Regions from separate parts of the Homo sapiens genome. Here region 1 is linked to region 2. The links are contacts of gene promoters, found by promoter capture Hi-C in blood cells and fetal thymus (Javierre and others, 2016). All regions are on one chromosome and are shown on one strand. Each heading gives the region's core, a stretch centred on a gene start or on the middle of the fragment in contact. The rest is flanking DNA. Distances are from core to core; before and after follow the strand shown.

Region 1 (6,772 bases), core at 1,420-3,919, 140 kb after region 2:
AGGCTGGGCGTCGTGGCTCCCGCCTGTAATCCCAGCACTTTGGGAGCCTAAGGCAGCAGGATCACTTGGGCCCAGGAGTTCTAGACCAGCATGGGCAACATAGTGAGACCCCCATCTCTATAAAAAAATTTAAAAATTAGCCAGGCATGGTGGTGCGAGCCTGTAGTCCCAGCTACTTGGGAGGCTGAAGTGGGAGGATCGCCTGAGCCTGGGAGTTGGTGCCTGCAGTGAGCCGTGATGGTGCCATTGCACTCTAGCCTGGGTGACAGTGCAAGACTCTGTCTTTAAAAAAAAAAGAAAAGAAAGAAAGAAAAAAGAAAATAAATCCATCCACAGGCAGCACCATTTTCATAAATATGTGTGTATATGGCCTGCATATGCACCTTCTACGCTTTCTGAGCAGATAAGAGGCGTGGCTATGGCAGCCCCTGGTCTGAAGCTGGTGTAACCAGAAAGGATCTAGGCTGGTTTGGGGAACCGGAACATCTTATGTCAGGGGAGTCGTGCTGGATTTATCCTGCAATGGCCGGGTCCCCTCACCAAGGGATGGGAAGGCAGCGTCAACTGATCTGGTGTCGTCTCCTTGCTGTGTGCCAGGCTTCTCAATGCTGGAAGGGGACTCGTTGGGTCAGTGGGACGTGGGCTTCACGTTTGCTGGGCTGAAGACGTAGCTCTCCATGCTGGCATCCCAGCGGACACCCCCACTGCCACTGCTGCACCACGTCTTCACGTACACCAGAGAGCAGACTTGAGAGTTTCTGCGCATACAGTGGGTGTGAAATGGTGCCCTGCTGGGTTTTGAATCGGCATTCCTTGACCACCGGCCATATTGCAGCACTTTTCATTTCTTCTGTCAAATGCCCGTGCATGTCTTGGCTTACACTTTGCAGGTGTTCTGTATTTTCCACACCAATCCCTGGGGTGTATGTCTTCGGCCTACCTGTTACTTGTCTTCTCAGTTTGCTGATGTATCATGTGATAAACAGAAAGTCTTAATTTTAATATCATAGCATTTATCAATCTGATTTCTTTTTTTGAGACGGGGTCTCGCTCTGTCGTGCAGGCTGGGGTGCATTGGCGCAATCATGGCTCACTGAAGCCTCCTGGGCTCAAGTGATCCTCCCACCTTAGCCTCCCAAACACCTGGGACTACAGGCAGGCGCCACAGTGCCTGGCTAATTTTGTAATTTTTTTGTAGAGACAGGGTCTCGCTATGTTGCCCAGGCTGGTCTCAAACTCCTGGACTCAAGCGGCCCTCCCGCCTTGGCTTCCCAAAGTGCTGGCCCGTGAGCCTGTGAGCCACTGCGCCTGGCTACCTTCTTTTGAATTCCCATTCAGACTGTGTGTTGCTGGTACATAGAAAAACAATGGATTTCTATGTATCAAGTAACCTTGTAAACTCTCATATTAAGTCTAATAATTATGTTTGGGTTCTCTTTGTGGATTCTTTTTGATTTTCTGCGTACACAATCCTATCATCTGCAAGTAATGACCATTTTGTTTCTTCTATTCCAGTCTTTTTAGCTTTGATTTCTTTTTTTGAGGCAGAGTCTGGCTCTGTCACCCAGGCTGGAGTATAGTGGCACAATCTTGGCTCACTGCAACCTCCGCCTCCCTGGTTCAAGCAGTTCTCCTGCCTCAGCCTCCCAAGAAGCTGGGACTACAGGCACCCACCACCACGCCTGACTAATTTTTGTATCTTTACCAGACACAGGGTTTCACCATGTTGGCCAGGCTGATCTGGAACTCCTGATCCACCTGCCTTGGCCTCCCAAAGTGCTAGGATTACAGGCGTGAGCCACTGTGCCCGGCTGATTTCGTTTCCTTGCTTTACTTCCCTGGACTTGCTTTCTCTTGCTTTTACTTCCTTTGAATGAAAGCATAGGAGGCGCTGGGCATGGTGGCTCACGCCTGTAATCCCAGCACTTTGGGAGGCCGAGGTGGGTGGATCACCTGAGGTCAGGAGTTCGAGACCAGCCTGACCAACATGGAGAAACTCTGTCTCTACTAAAAATACAAAAAAATTAGCCGAGCATGGTGGCCCATGCTTGTAATCCCAGCTACTTGGGAGGCTGAGGCAGGAGACTCGCTTGAACCCAGGAGGCCGAGGTTGCGGTGAGCCAAGATCGAGCCATTGCACTCCAGCCTGGGCAACAAAAGCGAAACTCTGTCTCAAAAAAAAAAAAAAAAAAAAAAAAAAAGCATAGGAGGCATTCTCAGTGTTCCATTATTAAGTATGATGTTTGCAGGGAGCATTCGGTAGATATGTTTATCAGATTTAGAAAGCTCCCTCCCATTCCTAGTGTGCTATATGTTGAATTTTTATAAAATGCTTTTTCTGAATGCATTAATATGATCACAGGGTTTTCCTCCTCTAATCTGTTAATGTGGCAAATTACATTAATTCATTTTTAAATGTTAAACCACTCTTGTATTTTCTGGACTAAACTCAACTTTGCGTGATGTATTTTTTTCATATACAATTCTGGATTGGGTGGTTTTTTTTTTTTTTTTTAGCCTCGTATTATTATCCTCGTCTGGTTTTGGTATCAAGACATCGTAAAGTGAGTTGAGGCAGTATTTCCTTTTTCAGCTGTTCACTGGAACAGTTAGTCTAAGATGGAGATGATCAGTTACTTCCATGTTTGCTGGAGATCATCTGTAAAACCATCTAGGCCTTCCTTGTTTTTTATTTTCTGTTTTTTGTTTTGTTTCTTTTCTTTTCTCTTCTTTGTTTTTTTTGTTTTGTTTTGTTTTGTTTTGTTGTTGTTTTGAGACAGAGTCTCACTCTGTTGCCCAGGCTGGAGTGCAGTGGTACAGTCTTGGCTTACTGCAACCTCTGCCTCCTGGGTGCAAGCGATTCTCCTGCCTCAGCCTCCCGAGTAGCTGGGACTGCAGGCATGCACCACCACGTCCAGCTAAGTTTTGTATTTTTAGTAGAGACGGTGTTTCGCCATGTTGGCCAGTCTGGTCTTGAACTCCTGACCTCAGGTGATCTGCCTGCCTCGGCCTCACAAAGTGCTGGGATTACAGGCATGAGCCACCGCATCTGGCCTGGCCTTCCTTGTTTTTGTAGCTTCCTGCCTGTCCCCCTATAGATTTTAAACAATGAATCCAACTTCTGTAATAATTATGGGACCATTTAGGTTTTCTGTTTCTTCTTGAGTAATTTTTTTATTGTGGGAAAAAATACATAACACAAAATTTGCCATCTTTTTTTTTTTTTTTTTTGAGACAGGTCTTGCTCTGTTGCCCAGGCTGGGGTGCAGTGGCATAATCATTGTAACCTCAAACTCCTGGTCTCAAGCAATTCTCCTGCCTCAGCCTCCTGGGTAGCTGGGACTATAGGCATTCACCACCATGCCCAGCTAATTTTTAATTTAATTTTTTTTTTTGAGACAGATCTCACTTTGTCACCCAGGCTGGAGTACAGTGGCGTGATCTCAGCTCACTGCAACCTCTGCCTCCCGGGTTCAAGCAATTTTTGTGCTTCAGCCTCAAATTTTTAATGTTTTTGGTAGAGATGGGATCTTGTTACTTTGCCCAGGCTGGTCTCCCATTCCCAGACTCAATCAATCCTCCTACCTTGGCTTCCCAAAGCACTGGGATTACAGGTGTGAGCCACCATGCCCAGCCTCCAACTTTATTCTTTTGCATGTGGATATCAAGTTTCCCCTATACCATTTGTTGAAAAGACTGCCCTTTTCCCAATTTGTAGCCTTGATACCCTTGTCAAAAATCATCTGACCATATACTTGAGAGTTTCTTTCTGGGCTCTGGATTATATTCTGTCTCTGTCTTTATGCCAGGACCACACTGTAATATGTTTTATTTTGTAAATCAGGAAGTGTGAGTCCTCGAACTTTGTTCTCCTTTTTCAGAATTGTTTTGGTTATTTGGAGCCCCTTGAGATTCTATCTGAATTTAGGATGAATCATTCTATTTTGAGTCAATTTTTGATAAACAATATTTTTCTAGGAACATGCTTTTTTTTTTTTTTTTTTAGACAGAATCTAGCTCTGTCGCCCGGGCTGGAGTGCAGTGGCATGATCTTGGCTCACTGCAACCTTTGCCTCCTGGGTTCAAGCAATCCTCCTGCCTCAGCCTCTCGAGTAGCTGGGATTACAGGTGCCCGCTACCACGCCCAGCTGATTTTTGTATTTTTAGCAGAGACGGAGTTTCACTGTGTTGGCCAGGCTGGTCTTGAACTCCTGACCTCAGGTGATCCACCTGCGTCGGTCTCCCAAAGTGCTGGGATTACAAGCGTGAGCCACCGCGCCTGGCTGGAACATGCCCATTTTGTTTAAGTTTTCAAGTTTATTAGCATAAAGTGTTTTGGTTTTATTTTATCATTGATTTATTATTAATAAATGTCTTGGGTCAAAACCAGATGACGTTGCTTAATGTTCATTTATTGTTAACCTACAAAAATTGCAGTTTCATCTTGTTCAATCTAATACACACGGAAGAGCATATGCTGCTTAGATGAATCATCCCCACTGACAGCCATCATGGACCCTTCTTTTTCCCTTCGCAGTTAGTCCTAGCCTTTCCTTGGTTTTCTTTATACTTGTCCCAAATATGAATTAGCCTTAAACAATAAATTATTTACTTTTGCAACAAATTTTTTGGTTTTATTTTTTTAAATGTGTTAACTAGAATCACCATGCTGTACATCAGATCTCTGGAACGTCTCCATCCTGCATAACTGAAACTTGGTACCCTTTGACCAGCATTTTCCCATTTCCCCTACCCCAGTCCTGGCGGCCACTGTTCTGCTCTGTTTCCATGAGGCTGACATTTTTACTTTCCACGTGAGCAGCGTCATGCAGTATTTGCCTTTCTGTGCCCGGCTTACTTCACTTAATGTAATGTCCTCCAGGTTCCTCCATGTTGCAAATGGCAGGATTGCCTTCTTTTTAAAGGCTGAGTAGTGATCCATTGTGTATCTGTACCACATTTTCTTTATCCATTCATCTGTTGGTGGGCATTTCGTTTGATTCCATATCTTGGCGATTGTGAGTAGTGCTTCAATGGACATGCGAGTGTGGATATTGCCTCGACATACCGATTTCATTTCCTTTAGATACATACCCAGAAATGGGATTGCTGGATTGTATGGTCATTCTCACTTTAAATATTTTGAGGAACCACCATGCATACCATTTTCCATACTGTTCCAAAATGTTCCCTTTTCTCCACACCCTCGCCAAAGTTTGTTTTCTTTTGTCTTTTTGAAAACGATCATTCTAATTTGAGTGAGGTGGTGTCTCATTGTGGTTTTGAGTTGCATTTCCCTGATGATTGGTGATGTCGAGCATTTTTTTCTTTTTTTAAGATGGAGTTTTGTTCTTTCGCCCAGGCTGGAGTGAAGTGGCGCGATCTTGGCTTACTGCAACCTCTGCCCCCCGGATTCAAGTGATTCTCCTGCCTCAGCCTCTGGAGTAGCTGGGATTACAGGCGTATGCCACCACACCTGGCTAAGTTTTGTATTTTTAGTAGAGACAGGGTTTCACCATGTTGGCCAGGCAGGTCCTGAACTCTTGACCTCAGGTGATCCACTCACCTCGGCTTCCCAAAGTGCTAGGATTACAGGCGTGAGCACTGCACCCGGCTGATGTTGAGCATTTTTTTTTAATAGACCTATTGGCCGTTTGTATGTCTTCTTTTGAGAAATGCCTGTTCAGGTCCTTGCCCATTTAAATTGGGTTATTTATTTTTTCAATTTTCAATTTTTAATTTTTAGGAGTACATAGTAGGTGTAACTGGGTTATTTTAACTGGGTTAGAAAATACATTTGCTTGCTATTGAGTTGTATGAGTTCCTTGTGTGTTCTGTGTATTAACCTTGTATCAGATGGATGGTTTACAACTATGTTCTTCCATTCCATAGGCTGTCTCCTTCACTCTGTTGATTGCTTCCTCTGCTGTGCAGAAGCTTTTTAGTTTGATGCAAACTCATTTGTCTGTTTTTGTTTTGTTGCCTGTGCTTTTGGTGTCATATTGAAAAACTTATTGCCCAGACCAGTGCCAAGCAGCTTTTCACGTAAGTTTCTTCTAGTAGTTTTCTAATTTCAGGTCTCACATTTGAATCTTCAGTCCGTTTTGAGTTGATCTTTGTGCATTGTGTGAGATAAGGGTCTAATTTCATTCTACTGCAAGTGAATATCCAATTTTCCCAACACCATTTATTGACAAGACTGTCTTTTGTCTATCATGTATTATTGGCACCTTTGTCGAAGATCAATCAACTGTAAATGCATAGATTTATTTCTGGGTTCACTATTCTGTTACGTTGGTGTATGTGTCTGTTTTTATGCCAGAACCATGCTGTTTTGGTTACTATAGCTTTGTAACATATTTTGAGATCAGATAGCATGAGTCTTCCAGTTTTGTTCTTTTTGTTCAAGATTGCTTTGGCTATTTGGGGTCTTTTGTGGTTTAACATACATTTTAGAATTGCTTTCTCTATTTCTGTGAAAAATCTCATGGGAATATTGATAGGGATTACATTGAATGTGTAGATCACTTTGGGTAGTATAGACATTTTAACAATATTAACTATCCCAATCCATGAACACAGGGTATCTTTCCATTTATTTGTGTTTTCTTCAGTTTCTTTCATCTGTGGTTTACAGTTTTCGGTGTATAGGTCTTTCACCTCCTTGGTTAAACTTATTCCTAAGTATTTTATTTTTTATAGCTATTATAAATGAGATTGTTGGCTTGATTTCCTTTTTGGATAACAAAATAAATCTTCTTTGATGATTTCT
Region 2 (7,358 bases), core at 1-2,500:
CGGTGGCGGTCCAGCGTCATGGCCAGGATCATGTAGGAGGAGGCATACATGCCCACCATCTGCAGATACTTCACGGCCCGACACAGGGCATCTGGCCCACGGAAGCGGTCGGTGGCCTTCCAGGCCAGCTGGGGCAGCACTTGGAACAGAGCCACGGCCAGGTCGGCCAGGCACAAGTGGCCAATGAAGACGTGTATGGGTGCCCAGTGGCCCCGCCGGCCCCGCCGAGCTAGGGCCGCCAGCACCAGGCCATTGCTCAGGGCCACAGCCACAAAGACTATGGAGAGCAGCGCCAGCTCCGCCCGGGCTAGCAGCGGGTCCCGGGTGTCCAGTGGCCTCTCCTGGCTGCTGTTGCTGGGCAGGCTGGGCAGAGAGGGATGCCCAGGCACAGCTGGGAAGGAGTCGGGAAGAGGGCCTGGTTAGAGAGGGTGCTGTGCAGGGGGACTCAGGCCTGCCTCCCGTGCCCCCATCCGGACACCCACTTCCTGGCTCCTAGCAGAGGGGACTCCAGGAAAGCCATGTTATGAGGGATACACACCCCAGGCTCATGCAGTCCAGAAGGAAGGGCAGCCCCAGCCCCAGCCCCAGCCCCAGCCCTGGCGGGGAAGTGGGGCTGTGCTCCCCTCCCCACTCATTGGCAGCCTGGAGAGACACACCCAGAGGTGAGGGTGAAGGAGGTCTTTAGAAAGAGGGGCTTCCCTGAATCGTCAAACCCACTCTGCCCACCGGACTCATGGAGGGGCAAGCCTTACCGGAAGTGGTGGACGCCATGAGCATGGTGGGGCTGGGGCAGGTGTTCTGAGGGCCTGGAGGTGATGTGCGGACTCAGCCTCTGCCTGAGGAGCAAGTTCAATGGCCCAGGGTCTCTGGACTGGAGCCCTTATAGAGATGCCAGCATGGCAGATGCCTGTTGGCGTGTGTGCACGTGTCGGTGGCAGTATGGCCAGTCCTGGGCAGGGAAGATTGAGAGGGATGGTCAGACAGACGGATGCACAGAACCCAGGATCCCCCAGGCAGCCCATGAGTCCCGGGTTTGGGAGTGGGCACCCCAGACAGACACGCAGAACTCCCCTGCCCCAACCGAGGCCGAGAGAGGCCACCATCCGAGGGCTGGGGACTGGGCAGGGGGGCAGGCAGGCGCAGCCCCTTACCTGGCTGGGCTCCTGGGCAGCTGGGCGGTGGCGTGAAGGTGGCTGGGTGCTCAGATCTGCTCTCCATCGGCTGCCCTGCCCTGGCCCAGCCCAGCCTCTGGGAGTGACCTGGCCAGGAGGGGACTTCCTCCCCCTCCCCCTTTCCCCCAGGCCTCCCCTGGCCTCCTGTTTCCCTTCCTTTCCCCAGGGCCTCCCTGGTCCCGGCCCAGGACTCCCTCCTCCCACTGCCATAGCCTCCACGCCCACCCTCACCCTACCACGCCCCCCTGGTTGGATTGTCTGGGTTGGCAGTGCTCTGGGAGGTCACTTAGTTCAGCATTCCCATTTTATAAGTGGGGAAACTGAGGCCAGAGAGCGGTGGGTCTGGCCCAGGACTGCGCTGCTTTTTCATGGGAGCTTCACGCCCCCTTCCCAAGTTGGGGTCCTCCTGCTCCTCGCTGGGCCCAGGCAAGGAAGGGGTGAAAACACTTTCGCTGGGCCCCTCCCAGGCCCACGCAGGCCCCTCCTCCTCCCCAGTTAGGGCCCAGTTGGCCGGAGACGAGGGACAGGAAAGGGAGGAGTGGGGCAGGGGCCAAGCCAGGCTTCACGAACCCCTGTGAGATCCAGGGACACCCCCACCCTCTTCCTCCTGCCCCACCTGCAACTACCTGTCCTAGGAAGAGGGGCTGGGGACCTCCGTGTGCTCACGGGCTCCCTCCCACCACACACAACCTCACATGATACAGCCACACAGCCACAAACACACAACACAGAGACGCTCGCTCATGTTCTTGAACATACCATGAGTATGGACGCACCTTCCCTGTACCTGAGCCCTCCTCCTCCCTCCCCCAACACCTCTCTCCTTCCCCTGTCCCCACACCCCCTCCAGCCCCCATCCCAGTAGTTCTCTTTCCACTCCCCCCGCACCCAGGCCTGGCTTGGCTCAGCCGAGGCCAGCCCAGCCCAGCCCAGCCCAAGGCAGCTGCTTTCTTCCTGTTTGTCTGTCTTCTCTGTTGCCTGTGAAGCCAGAGACCAAAACAGCCTCACGGACCAGGCCCAAGTCCGGCCCGCGGCCAAGGCCTCCTCTTCCTGCCCAGAGAGCCTGGCAGCACCCTGGCCCCTCCCGGCCCTGTTAGGGTGGTGGGAACACAGGGTGGGCATTTTCCAGAGACAGCGCACACACCACACCACATACATACATGCACACAGCCACACGCCACACACACATGCACCCACCACACACCCATACGCCACACCACACACACACCACACCATGCACACATATATTACACACCACACACATGCACACATCACACACTCCCATACGCCACACACCCACACATGTACCCACCACACAGCCATACACACCACATACGCACAGCCAACACCACACACGCACACACCCGCAGCACACACAGGTGCACATCACACCCCGCATCTTTGCCATGTTTTTGCAGAGCCCCTTGGGGGCAGGCTGCAGAGTGCTGGCACCCCAGGCCTGACGCTTCAGCTGCATCTCCTCAGCGCATGCACATCCTCATGCTGTCCCCAATAACCGCATGCTGTCACTAATCTAGGAGCATAGAAAAGGCCTTCCTAATGCCACCCAGATCAGTGGAATAGGAGATGGCTTCCCTCAACTGGCAGAGAATTTGGGGACCCTGGCTGGGGAATAGGAAAGCAAGGCTCCAGCCCCTGCTTGGCCCCTGCCCAGTAGTGTGACCTTGAACAGGCCACGCCAGCTCTTGGCACCTCAGCTTCCCCTTCTGTGCAATGGGACTTGATGATTGAGGGAGACTACGGTGGTAAGATGGGCAGGGGTGGGGACTGGCAGGGCCTTGGGAAAGCCTTTGTTCCCTCCGTCTAAAGCCGGCTAGGGCGAGGAATCCATGCTAACCTTTTGGGGTGAGCAGACAACCATCTCCTTATCAGTTTCTCTGCCTGAACGAGGCTGTGCAGTGCCGGATCTCAGCAGCAGGTTGGGACCTCCCCTAGCAATGTGGCCAGGCCCGTGGCAATCTCTGCCCCCCTGGACTCCTCGCTTCCTGTTGTTAAACTAGGGAAGAATCTGGAGGAAGGGCCCGCATGGCGGTCTCCTCTGGGATGCAAGAAGCCAGATCAGGATCCAGTGCCATTCTGCTCAGCCAGGACCCCGGGGAGGAACTGGGAGCCACATGGGCAGGCACTACATGGAACTGTGCCAGGAGAGAGGCCCTGGGCAGCCACCCCTCGGGGGCCAAGAAAGATGGGGCTGGGCAGCAGCTCCCATGGGAAGAAGGGCAGACTGTGCTGATTCACGCTAGGCCCACATGAGTCACTCAAGCCCCTGCCCTTGGGCGTTAACGGGCAGGGCATCTACCTGGGGGTGTGCCAGGCCCCCACTCCTGCCAGCGCAGCCCCTGTGTGCACACCTCCCACTGGTCCCTCTAAGACTTGCAGAAAGGGCTCTGTGAGTGCCAAGGTGTGGCTCCTGATCTTCCAGCCTAGTGTCTGGGCAGAAGAGGACAGGAGGCAGATTGGGGGGACACTGTTTGTCCCTCTCTATCTACCGGTTCCCCATGATCAGAACCTTCCATTCACCAAACTGCAAGTGCCGCTGGCCTAGCACTGTGGCTGCAGAGATGGAAGGACCTGGGCTCTGCCCCAGGAGCACATGGGCTTCTGCAGAGAAGAGTGGAGGCAGGGAGGCTGGTGGAAGCTGTGCCTGTCACCCAGGAGAGAAATGGTGCGACCCACTTAACACTGGGCAGCGGGGCTAGAGGGAGCAGGCAGGTGGAAAAGGCATTTAAAGGGCCCTGAAGGATTTGTAAGGGGTGGAAGACAAAGAGGAGGCAGCCAAGGACGAGGAGAAAGAGGCCCCCGATTGTGTGGGAGGGGTGCATGTGCAGATGGTGGAGCCTGTGGGCAGTGGGAAGGACGGAGCCAAGTGCCTGTCAACAGGAACGGCCCTCACAGGGACTGTGACCCGAAGGAGAATACCTAGAGCCCAGGAGATAGGGAGGAACAACGGGTTGGAGGATGGGATTGAAGGGGACAAAAACAAATTTAATAAAAACTCAAGTGTACTTGTGTGAATGTGAGGGTGTGTGTGAGGGTGTGCGTGTGTGAGGGTGTGAGAGTGTGTGAGGGTGTGTGTGAGAGTGTGCGTATGTGAGGGTGGGCGTGTGTGTGGGGTGTGTGTGGTGTGTGGTGTGTGAGGGTGTGCATGTGAGGGTGTGTGGTGTGTGTGTGGCGTGGGTGGTTGTGTGTGAGGGTGTGTGGTGTGTGTGTGTGTGGCGTTGGGGGGGTTGTGTGTGAGGGTGTGCGCGTGTGTGAGGGTGTGTGCGTGTGTGAGGGTGTGTGCGTGTGTGAGGGTGTGTGCGTGTGCCAATGATGACAGGAAGACAGCCTGCGGATGATCATCTAATTGTGTCCATTCACCTAAGTGAATAATAACTGGGAAAGCTGGACAGAGCCTGTTTATAGCTGCGGAAAGGCAGCCCATGGAACTGGATAGATTAAGAGCCTCGCGGAGTGGAAGGGAGGGCCAGGGTCTCCAGCAGGTGCTGGGGTGAGGGGCGGGGGGTAGAAGGAGGGTGAGCGTTGAGGGCTTGAGGGCCGTACCCATAGATGGCCTCCAGGTCATCATGTGAGAGTCAGGCAGGAGGCGGCTCCCTGGCAAAACTGCAGAGATTTTTTTTTTTTTTCTTTTTTAAAGGCAGTGGCCCCTCCCGCTTTCCTCCCCAGAGGCGGCCGACTGCAGTTGCTGTTAGTGGGCTGTTTGGGTAACTGCCTCGGGGTTTCCCAGTCTGACTTCCTCTTGCTCTCTCTGCCTGCACGTTCCTCCCCCAGATTATTGCAGCAGCTGCTCCGGGTGTCTTCAGTGCTCATGCACTCACCACCCTGGAATGGCCCTCCGCAGGCAATGATTTCTCTCCTCCAGAATGACTTTTTTTTTTTTCGGCTTTATTGAGGTATGATTAGCATACAGTAAAATTCATTAATTGTAATTGTACTGTTCAGTAAGATTTGACAAATGTATACAGTCGTGTAACCACAACCACAATCATGACATAGAATAAATATTTTCGACATTCCAGAAAGTTCCCTCGTGGCCTTTTGCAGTCAAGCTTCTTCCCCTACCTGAAAGCCTAGCAACCACTGATCTATCACTATAGATTTTCCTTTTCTAGAATTTTATATAAATAGAATCATAGAGTATGTAGTATTTTCAAAAATTAGCCGGGCGTGGTGGCGCAAGCCTGTAATCCCAGCTACTCAGAGGCTGAGGCTGGAGAATCGCTTGAACCCGGGAGGCGGAGGTTTCAGTGAGCCGAGATCTTGCCATTGCACTCCAGCCTGGGTGACACAGCAAGACTCCGTCTCAAAAAAAAATAATAATAAAAATAAATAAATAAATAAAAGAGTACATAGTATTTTGTGTAACTTCTTTTTTTTTTTTATATTTTTTTTGGTGGGGAGGAGGCATAGTCTCTCACTCTGTCACCCGGTATACTGAAAGCTTTTATCACAAGTGAGTATTGAATTTTTTTCTTTTTTTTCTTTTTTTTTTTGAGTCGGAGTTTCACTCTTGTTGCCCAGGCTGCAGTGCAATGGCGAGATCTTGGCTCACTGCAACCTTCGCCTCCCAGGTTCAAGAGATTCTCTTGCCTCAGCCTCCCAAGTAGCTGGGATTACAGGCAAGCGCCACCATGCCCAGCTAATTTTGTACTTTTAGTAGAGACGGGGTTTCTTCATGTTGGTCAGGCTGGTCTCGAATTCCCGACCTCAGGTGATCCACCTGCCTCGGCCTCCCAAAGTGCTGGGATTACAGGCATGAGCCACCACACCCGGCCAATTTTTGTGTTTTTAGTAGAGACAGGGTTTCATCATGTTAACCAGGATGGTCTCGATCTCTTGACCTCTGATCCACCCACCTTGGCCTCCCAAAGTGCTGGGATGACAGGTGTGAGCCACTGTGCCTGGCTGTTGTTTACCATTTTTACATCTGTATTAATGAGAGATGCTGGTCTACGTTTTCCCTTTCTGTAATATCTTTGGTTTGGGGATGAGTATAATGCTGACTTTATAAAACGAGTTGGGAAGTGTTCTCTCTTTTTCTGTTTTCTGGAAGAGTTAGTATAGAATTGGTATTATTTACACAAACCTGGAGTTTTCTTTGTGAGAATTTTTTCAGTTATAAATTCAACTCTTCTGACAGATACAGGGCTAATCAGGTTATCTATTTTTTCCTAAATGAGCGTTGACCATTTGTATCTTTCAAGGAATTTGTCCATTTCATCTAAGTTGTTGGATGTATTGGAATAAGTTTTTCACAACATCCTCTTATCACTTTTTTATGTTTGTAGGATCTGTAATAATGCCCCCTCTCTCTTATTCTCCATATTGGTAATTTGTATCTTCTCTCCATTTTTTTTTTCTGATCAGTCTGGCTAGAGGCTTATCAATTTCATTGATCTTTTTGTTTTGTTTTGTTTTGAAACGAAGTTTTGCTCTTGTTGCCCAGGCTGGAGTGCAGTGGTGTGATCTTGGCTCACTGCAACTTCTGCCTCCCAGATTCAAGCAATTCTTCTGCCTCAGCCTCCTGAGTAGCTGGGATTACAGGTGCACACCACCACGCCCAGCTAATTTTTGTATTTTTTAGTAGAGATGGGGTTTCACCATGTTGGTCAGGATCATCTCGATCTCTTGACCTCATGATCTGCCTGCCTCGGCCTCCCAAAGTGCTGGGATTACAGGTGTGAGCCACCGTGACCGGCTCTAGTTTCTTAAAGTAGAAATTTAAATAATTATTTTGGGACCTTTCTGCTTTTCTAATATAAGTAGTTCCTTTTCCTCTAATCAGTTGTTTTGTTGAATTCCCAAATTTTCATATTTTATTTGCATTTCTATTCAGTGAAAGATATGTTCTACCAATAATTTTACTTGTGGTTTCTTCTTTGGTTCTTGGGTTATTTGGAAGTAGATATTTTTTCATTTCAAAATATTTAGAAAATTCCTAGATGTCTTTTTGTTGTTGATTTCTAATTCAACATCATTTTGGTCAGAAATCGTACTTTGTATGATTTTGACCCTTTGTAATTTATTGAGGCTTGCTCGATTGCCCAGAAGTTGTCTGTGTTGGTTGGGGTTCCATCTGCACTTGAGAAGAATATGTGTTCTGCTGTTGTTGGATGTAGTGTTCCGTACATATCAATTGAGTCAATTAGGTTGATAGTGTTGTTC

Evidence for each region. The method cuts DNA at HindIII sites, captures the fragments that hold promoters and counts their contacts. A CHiCAGO score of 5 or more calls a contact.
Region 1: a fragment that was not itself captured here is called in contact with the fragment with the promoter of AVPR2 in region 2 in 10 of 17 cell types (total CD8 T cells, M1 macrophages, M0 macrophages and 7 more); the score reaches 7.8 in total CD8 T cells.

The regions. Positions count from the first base shown.
Region 1 is chrX:153,755,919-153,762,690 of GRCh38, reverse strand. The region is part of intron 2 of PLXNB3-AS1 (PLXNB3 antisense RNA 1); the gene reads left to right. Among named protein-coding and RNA genes, the nearest start is that of PLXNB3, 4.9 kb to the left of the region's middle. The HindIII fragment of the contact is 6,541 bases long and covers 1-5,939 here.
Region 2 is chrX:153,898,565-153,905,922 of GRCh38, reverse strand. It overlaps AVPR2 (arginine vasopressin receptor 2), which reads right to left and starts at 1,250. Exons shown (of 4, transcript NM_000054.7): 1 at 1,152-1,250; 2 at 753-949; 3 at 1-391. The coding sequence starts at 777. The HindIII fragment of the contact is 5,945 bases long and covers 1-5,244 here.